Regions from separate parts of the Homo sapiens genome. Here all the other regions are linked to region 2. Evidence: promoter capture Hi-C in human tissues and cell types (Jung and others, 2019). All regions are on one chromosome and are shown on one strand. The core of a region is centred on a gene start or on the middle of the fragment in contact, and the rest is flanking DNA. Distances in the headings are between cores, read along the strand shown. Region 1 overlaps ADTRP (androgen dependent TFPI regulating protein). Region 2 holds the start of EDN1 (endothelin 1). Region 3 overlaps ADTRP (androgen dependent TFPI regulating protein).

Region 1 (2,726 bases), core at 12-2,511, 540 kb before region 2:
GTGGTCAGAAAGTCCAGAGGTAAGGAAAAGAGGGAAAGAACTATTTAGGAGAGATGTGTCCAATGTTGTGGAGTGGTATTCAGGCATGAGCACCAAATCTACTAGGTTTCCAGACAAGAAGGCTGTTGGTAAGCATGCAGGCCAGGCGCTTGCCCCTTGTGTTTCCAATGAGCCTGTCCTTCCTTCCAGGCTAAGTCCTCCATTTCTTGTTGAGTGTCTGGGACCTTTAGGGCTCAACCTCCTGCTCAGCGGATTCTTGGATGTGGAGCCAGGAGCCTGAACACTGAGGGAAGGTCAGCATAGAGATGCTCCCCAGAGGCCACTGCCGTCAGTTCCACAACCCCGAGGTTGGCTGGGAATCTTAACAAGTTTGTAAGTGTAAAATTTGGGCACCTGCAACGCAGGACCAGTTGGCAAGAAGCCCACTTGCTTAGAACCCACCACACTCCTGAGAACGCAAGCCTGGGGCATTGAGACAAATTCCCATGGCCAAGAAATGTGGCTCACTTCCTTATCATGGTCTTCTCAGGAAAAACTGAAACAAAATTTCTCCAAAGGTCACAAAATTCCTTCTCACCACAGAATAATACAATGTGGCTTTTAGGAGTTCCTAGTTGTGTTCAGAGGGAGATGCTGAAGACACACACATGCTTTTATTCATAACCAATTTGTACCAGGCGAGCTCTCCAGAATACCCCTCTGAAATGATTGTGCACTTTTTGGTTTCCAAATTCAGAAGACACAAAAAGCACAAGGGTTTGTTTTGTTTGTTTGTGTAGGGCACTTTAGCTTTCAAGCTGAATTTTCATGGGTAAATTAGTTTCTAATAAAAGGAAGAGAAACGCTGAAATCTCCTCTGTTTTTATGAGGCTTCTCTTTTTATTCTGCCCTCAACATAAGAAGAAACTTGATTGCTATTGGACTGTTAAAACTCCAAATTCCATAGCAGCCATGAAAACACTTGTTCTGTTTCTATTTGTGGAATTCCACAGGCATGGATTTACTTTTCATATGCACAACAAATGAACCTCATTCCTAGCTTCTTTGCCCATCAACAGGAACCCCTGGTTGGATAGCATCAGGTATGTCTCCCAGGGCCAGCAGCAGCCCAGCAATAGTGATGAGGAGGGAAACTGACCTATCACAGGCTTTCACAGAGACAGAAAGGGGCTGTTTCTTTTTTCAACTGTTTCTCCTCTTCCCCTGATGGCCTCTCTTTCATCTGGTTACTGCCATGATCATGTCCTTATTCCTCTGCTTAATTGCAGACTCTGCCTCCTTTTTTCTTTGATTCACTAATTCTTTGGAGACATGAATACACAGTTACCTAATTAACATCTGACCACGGTGGATGTACAGAGGAAAGTATCAGCCTAGAAAACTTTCTGCCAGAGAGTATATGCTTTTAGCTACCGCACCAATCAGAACAGACATTGATTCGCCTCAAGCAAAATATATGTAATTATGACTCTATGCATCTCTTTGAACGTAAGTCAGTCATGATTAGACCACGTGTCTCAGATATAACAACCAAAAGCCCTATAGATATTTCAAGGCACTGGTAAGCTTCCTAGCAGTGTCCTCATTTATAACTTTCTGTATAAAAGAACACTCCAAAGTGTCCAAATATACAGTGTCAGCTACAGACGCTGACACTTGGGTTGCTAAAGGCTTTCCCTCTGCCTCTAATGCTTCTTGGCCCCAGCACACCTCACTCCACCCCAAAGGAAGAAGAACTCTGGGGTCAGTCAAGGTCATAGAGAAACTACTGAAGTAAGAGATGAAGTCTTCATTCATTCTCTCATGCCATAATCATTAAGTGCCTACCACATACCAGGCATTGTGTGAGGTGCTAAGGATCAGAAGGTGGACAGATGTGGTCCCTGGCCTTGCAGACCTTACAGTCAATGGGCAAGATTTCCTGTGAGCAAGTAGGGAAACAGATACCAATCACAATATGTGCTATGAAGGAAAACAAACAGGAATCTAGGTACCAGAACACAAGTGGAGGCACGTACTTCATGGAAGGCAGTCAGGAAAAGCCATTCTGAGAAGACCACGTCCAAGATGTGTTCTAAAAGCTACAGCTGAGCCATGGGAGAGCAGATGGGGAGCATCTTGGGCAAGGGTGCAGTACGCACGAAGGTCCTGTAGGAGAATGAACTTCAAGAGCTGCAGGGCACAGTAAAGCCTGGAATGGCTGGAACATGGAGTGCCAGGGGGAGAGAAGCTCAATCTGTGTCTGCAGCATTAAGCAGGGCCCAGGTTTACCAGGTTTTGTTGGCCATAGGAAGGAGTTCAGGTTTATTCCAAGTGAAGCGGGAAGCCACTGCTGAGTACTAAAAAGGGAAATAACATTTTGCAATCGATTTTGCCATGGTCTGTAGAGGCCTGAAAATGAAAGCTGGAGGACCAGTTTGGAGATGTTGTATTTAGGTGAGAAATAAATGTGGCCACGAGGGTGTTGGCAGTGGAACTAGAAAGTGAACAGATTTGCTACCTATTCTGGAGGTAGAATGGATGAGAGTAGCTAATGGAATGGATAGAGTGGAGGGAGGTGGCAGGGTCAATGCTGGTTTCTGTCTTGGGCAATTGGGAGGATGATGGTTCCATTTCCTGAGATGGAGATGCTCAGAACAGATGAGAATATAATGTATTCAGTGAGATATTATAATATAATACAATATATTCAGTGAGAATAGAATATATTCAGCTCTGTACATGTT
Region 2 (2,700 bases), core at 66-2,565:
GCGGAAAAAGCCAATGTGTTCCATGCACCTTTTGCTTTCTTTATTAAGGCATGATGTCACCTGTACAGTAACTGCCCTGTGTGTACTTCAGGGGGGGATTTCAAGGTTAGATAGACAGGAAATTGTTTTGAAAATGTAAACACATTATTAAATGTGAAGTATTATCTGATTCCTTGTTCGAATGGCATTTCCTTCTCAGCACCACCTTCCTTGCATATTCACTTAACCTTGTACAAGAACACCTTTTTGCCCTAAATGAAGACACCCCCCCAAAAAAAAGAGTCCCAGAAAATATGTCCCTGCTTGTGCGGGGAATAAATAGAATATTCTGAGGTGCATTCCTCCTTCCTATGTTAGGCAACATTCCTTGACCCTCCTCGGCCCCCAAGCCAGGTTGCGTTTTTTTCTGCCATTTAGAAGGGTTTTCCTTTTTGTCCTAGTAAAACATCAGCCCCTGTAGCTCTTCATCTCCCCCTGGTGTTCTTCTCCCGCCATGTCTTAAGATTGGTGGCACCGACCAATCTTAAGATTTAAGTTCTGTGTGAAAAACACCTTTGCTTTTCAATCAGTTTATCAGCCTCCTCCGCAGGGGAAGTGTGGACACACAAAAGAACTTATCGGGGCTTCTCATCAGTGATAGGGAAAAGACTGGGCATGTGCCTAAACGAGCTCTGATGTTATTTTTAAGCTCCCTTTCTTGCCAATCCCTCACGGATCTTTCTCCGATAGATGCAAAGAACTTCAGCAAAAAAGACCCGCAGGAAGGGGCTTGAAGAGAAAAGTACGTTGATCTGCCAAAATAGTCTGACCCCCAGTAGTGGGGCAGTGACGAGGGAGAGCATTCCCTTGTTTGACTGAGACTAGAATCGGAGAGACATAAAAGGAAAATGAAGCGAGCAACAATTAAAAAAAATTCCCCGCACACAACAATACAATCTATTTAAACTGTGGCTCATACTTTTCATACCAATGGTATGACTTTTTTTCTGGAGTCCCCTCTTCTGATTCTTGAACTCCGGGGCTGGCAGCTTGCAAAGGGGAAGCGGACTCCAGCACTGCACGGGCAGGTTTAGCAAAGGTCTCTAATGGGTATTTTCTTTTTCTTAGCCCTGCCCCCGAATTGTCAGACGGCGGGCGTCTGCCTCTGAAGTTAGCAGTGATTTCCTTTCGGGCCTGGCCTTATCTCCGGCTGCACGTTGCCTGTTGGTGACTAATAACACAATAACATTGTCTGGGGCTGGAATAAAGTCGGAGCTGTTTACCCCCACTCTAATAGGGGTTCAATATAAAAAGCCGGCAGAGAGCTGTCCAAGTCAGACGCGCCTCTGCATCTGCGCCAGGCGAACGGGTCCTGCGCCTCCTGCAGTCCCAGCTCTCCACCGCCGCGTGCGCCTGCAGACGCTCCGCTCGCTGCCTTCTCTCCTGGCAGGCGCTGCCTTTTCTCCCCGTTAAAAGGGCACTTGGGCTGAAGGATCGCTTTGAGATCTGAGGAACCCGCAGCGCTTTGAGGGACCTGAAGCTGTTTTTCTTCGTTTTCCTTTGGGTTCAGTTTGAACGGGAGGTTTTTGATCCCTTTTTTTCAGAATGGATTATTTGCTCATGATTTTCTCTCTGCTGTTTGTGGCTTGCCAAGGAGCTCCAGAAACAGGTAGGCACGCTCGTTGACTTGTAAGTCTCGGAATTACAAGTTAGTGTGTTCTTATCCACCTTCATGCTTTTCTTGCTTCTATTTTTCCCCGTTCTTTTTATGACTGCAGCTTAGAGAGCAAGTGTCTGAGAATTATTGCTGAAAGCTACTTTAAGTCTTCTAGTGTAAAATGTAAAATTCCTCTATTGAATACAATTAGGTGCAATTGACTATAACATGACATTAAAATAACTTATCGTTTTATTATTATTATTCCATTATGTGTTTCCTTGGCTTTTAAAAAATGAGAAGAGTATGGACATATACAATTTAGTCAAATGTATGTTTGTAATATATGTGTTTATACAGGTACACAGGCCATATAGGAACTTAAATCTTATTTAAACACTATTTTAATAGTGTGTTAACGTGTAAAATATTTAAGCATTCCAGCTTGAAGCCAAGGAATTGTATCCAGTCGTTCAAGCAATGTATGTTCAGTAAAATCACCTGCAGAGCAAAAGTCTGTTGACTAACTACCGCCTCCCCCCCCCCCCGCCACCACCCCCCGCAGGCGGTTTCTGGGTGAAGCAGATGTTTTCTTTAAAATTTGTCATCATTGACTTTAGGTTTCTTTTGGCAGGTTTTTGGCACCCAAAACAGTGTGAGCTCTCTTTTCAGCTTTATTCACCTGTGCTGGGAGGGGAGCTAGGATAATTCTTGGCTGCCGAAGGATTTAGGCAGTGCGTGTGCATCTGCCCGGGTCCCCCCCGTTTTTAGGGTCAGTGCACTTTTTTTGTCTTTTCGTGACCCTGACTAAAGAGAAAGGATGTCAAGGGAATGAAAATCCTGGAATGTGTCTGATCATTTGAAATGTACAAAATTGGGCAGATAAGCTGCATGGCTAAATTGTTAGGAGGAAGAGGCAAGGCAGTAGTGGAGAAGGGGGAGGCAGTGGATCCCACACAAGCCTGATGCCCAGGGATTCGGAATTCAAAATCCCCCCAGCCTACCTTCAGTCCCCTGACCTGCTTCTCAGCCCCACCTTAGGTCACTGGTTTCTATGGAGTTAC
Region 3 (2,946 bases), core at 313-2,812, 520 kb before region 2:
TCCCAGACCATTAGTCATTTATTTTAACCAATAACTTCTTTTTCTAAACTTTCACCAGGAATGCTGAGAGTAGGCACATGGAGTAGCTTGAGTCATACACGTTCCTTGTCCACCCTCTAAATAGGCATGGCTAGGGGAAGCAGGAAGCCTGAGAACCATAAGTGCCAATCTCCCTGGAAAATGCACAAGCTAGCTGACTGAGGGCTGGATCTCCCTGGTGCTCAGAACTTTGAATTGATCTCCTCTTGTACTCCTTGCCTCTCTTGTCAAAGCATCTATCCTCTATGCTACGAAGTCAACGCATAGATAAGGAAGTTAAAAACTATTAAACTTCTGATCTTCCTATCTTCTGACATTTCACACACTCCATTTCTAAGCCTCAAAAAATAAACAGACTTCACTGTTGATTTTAAAAACTTGGCTATAGCCAGACTTGGTGGCTCATGCCTGTAATCCTAGCACTTTGGGAGGCCAAGGCAGGCAGATCACTTGAGTTCAGGAGTTCGAGATCAGCCTGGGCGACATGGCAAAACCATGTCTCTACCAAAAATACAAAAAAGTAGCCAGGTGAGACAGGAGGATCACTTGAGCCTGGGAGGTTGAGGCTGCAGTGAATCGAGATCACACCACTGCACCCCAGTCTGGGCAACAGAGTGAGACTTTATCTCAAACCCCTCCCCTACCCCCCAAAACCAAAAAGCTTGGTCATTAGAAGATTTTACGTGGGCAGAGGTAGAGGTATCCTGCAAAGTAATAGGTATCCTTGCTTTGTTATCAGAGAACTCACTAGGGCTTGGAGAGTTGCATTTTGCATTTAAATTAAGTTCTGTACTATAGGAAGCAGGACAATGACAGGTAGAAGAAGGTAGTCATTTCTAATTATAGGCCCTGCTGGGCAGCCAGCATGCCTGATCTCTGTTTATTTCCATTCTAGCTAACGAATGGAAAACATGAACAATGTCATAGAAATGTGGATGGCATCAGCATACCAGCTTACTGTCCCTGCCATATGTCTCACTTCTTCCTGACATCCATCCACTCAGCAACATGAATGAGGCACCCACTGTGTACCCCACACCAGGCTGTCTTTCTCTCCTCGGTTGTCTTTTCCATGTGCCACCTTTGAAGGTCTCATATCTCTTTTCAAAAAAAAAATTATTTGATGGTTTTCCACTTGCAGAAGTAACATATACTTATCGTAGCAAGTGAAACAAGATGTATAAAAGGGGAAAATTCGTCATCTCCCTCCCCAGGGCTCTCCATTCCCATCACCCTGATGGAACCAAGGTTGTCTCAGTTGTATTTTGATTAAGAAAGGTCTTTCAAACTTCCCCATTAGACGGCAATAAGGACCTTGTACCAAGCCTTTGCAGAGGTACAAAAGCTAGTGATAAAGCTGATCACTAATGTGCCATATTTCCTAAAGACACTGGGCAATGTGGCGCAGTCCTCAGACAGGACATTGTTGTAAATGCAGTGGGTGTGGTTTCCAATTATGGGCTCCCAAACAGCTTGGCTGCCCAGGAGAAGCGTCTGTCCATATGCACATTTCTGTTAGATTATGTACACATCTTTGAAACTTACCGTGGATACAGGAAAAGCCAGAGTGGTGAAAAGCAGGTCTCTGAAGGCAGTTAGGAACTTAATGTCTTTTCCCCCTTTGGTTCTTTTCAGCACATCATCCAGGCAGGTGACCCCGTAGAAAATGGTCTGCAAGAGCTAAATCCATTACAACAAATGAGGGCATTTTCATTTACTTTAATTAATACCTTCTTCACTGATGGAAAACTCCATCCCTCTGAGAGTAATGTGGCTTTGAGAGGGAGAGGGCTGTTGGGTTGTTTTGGTTGAGAGCCAATTCAAGGGCTGGGCTTCCAGCTCATTGGGTCCTGACCCTGCTCGCTAAGACTGATTGAGCAAATTTGTTTAGGGGACAATAATGTGTACAGTATTTAGTGTAATGGACTTGAGCTAACATGGAAACAAAATAAAGAGTCAGCCTAAAAGGGGAATGTAAGGAGATGGATACCTTGACGGCACAGAGGTTGGAAGAACCAAATAAACAGCTCAAAGGCAAAGAGGCAGATACAGGGTGGACAGAGTCAGGAGTCTTCCTGGGAAGGAAAATTAGGAAAAATGCCTAGTGCTGAAATCTCACTAGAGAAACTGGAATCAGGTCAAGAGGACCACCACGAATCTCTGTGCTCTCCCAAGAAAGGCACACAAAAGGGTGCCTTGCTCAGCCGAAGAAGAGCCGGTGCACTTTCTTCCTTAAATAGGGCACCTGCAGGCCTCACCGAGACAATCTGGCCGTGGCAGCAATTTAAATCCAAGGGGATAGAGCAAGCCATGAGCGCTGGTGGGTTACTAAGTGCTGTGTGGCCCCCAAAGCCAGGAGAAAGAGAAGGAGGGTATTTTTCAAGAAAGTAATACGATATGGAAGGCAAGCTTTGTACATTCTTGTTGCTTTGTACAGTTCTGTGGTTTCTCATTTAAGAACTGGTAGGTCATGAAGATATGGAGTTTGGGGGGTGGGGTTAAGTTAGGCTTGCGACAGAATCCATCCAAATCCTTGAAAGCCCTGGACTGGTACAAGAGGGGTGGTCTGGACTCTGCTTTTAGGGTATAAGTCAGGAAGGTTCTAGAGCCTGGGGAGCTGGGCTGGGGATTGATCAAGGTGGCTGTTGGGGAACAATCTTTGAGCTCTGGACTCTAGGAAAGACCTAGCAAAGTCAGCCACATGCTGCTCCTGGGCTGAGGGCGTAGGCAGGAAATGATACAGAGGTGGGTCAGACCAGCTACACCCATCACCCAGGAGCTTGTTAGAAATGCAGGACCTCCATCCTATCCCAGACTACGGAATCAAAATCTCTGGAAATGGGGTCCAAGAGTTTGTTTTTTAAGAAGCTTCTCCAGAGCTTGTTAAAGATTGTTTATCTGGGTGGG

The links. Contacts are between HindIII fragments. The study calls those that stand out against the background at their distance.
Region 1: a contact is called between a fragment that was not itself captured here and the fragment with the promoter of EDN1 in region 2, in 2 of the 25 tissues and cell types used here (lymphoblastoid cells and stomach).
Region 3: a contact is called between a fragment that was not itself captured here and the fragment with the promoter of EDN1 in region 2, in 1 of the 25 tissues and cell types used here (IMR-90 fibroblasts).

The regions. Positions count from the first base shown.
Region 1 is chr6:11,746,637-11,749,362 of GRCh38, forward strand. The region is part of intron 3 of ADTRP (androgen dependent TFPI regulating protein); the gene reads right to left. Among named protein-coding and RNA genes, the nearest start is that of ADTRP, 31 kb to the right of the region's middle. The HindIII fragment of the contact is 3,656 bases long and covers 1-2,726 here.
Region 2 is chr6:12,289,046-12,291,745 of GRCh38, forward strand. It overlaps EDN1 (endothelin 1), which reads left to right and starts at 1,316. Exons shown (of 5, transcript NM_001955.5): 1 at 1,316-1,648. The coding sequence starts at 1,585. RefSeq lists enhancers at 1,069-1,168, 1,179-1,248. The HindIII fragment of the contact is 6,997 bases long and covers 1-2,700 here.
Region 3 is chr6:11,766,665-11,769,610 of GRCh38, forward strand. ADTRP (androgen dependent TFPI regulating protein) reads right to left here. Exons shown (of 6, transcript NM_032744.4): 2 at 1,585-1,719. Among named protein-coding and RNA genes, the nearest start is that of ADTRP, 11 kb to the right of the region's middle. The HindIII fragment of the contact is 3,157 bases long and covers 1-2,946 here.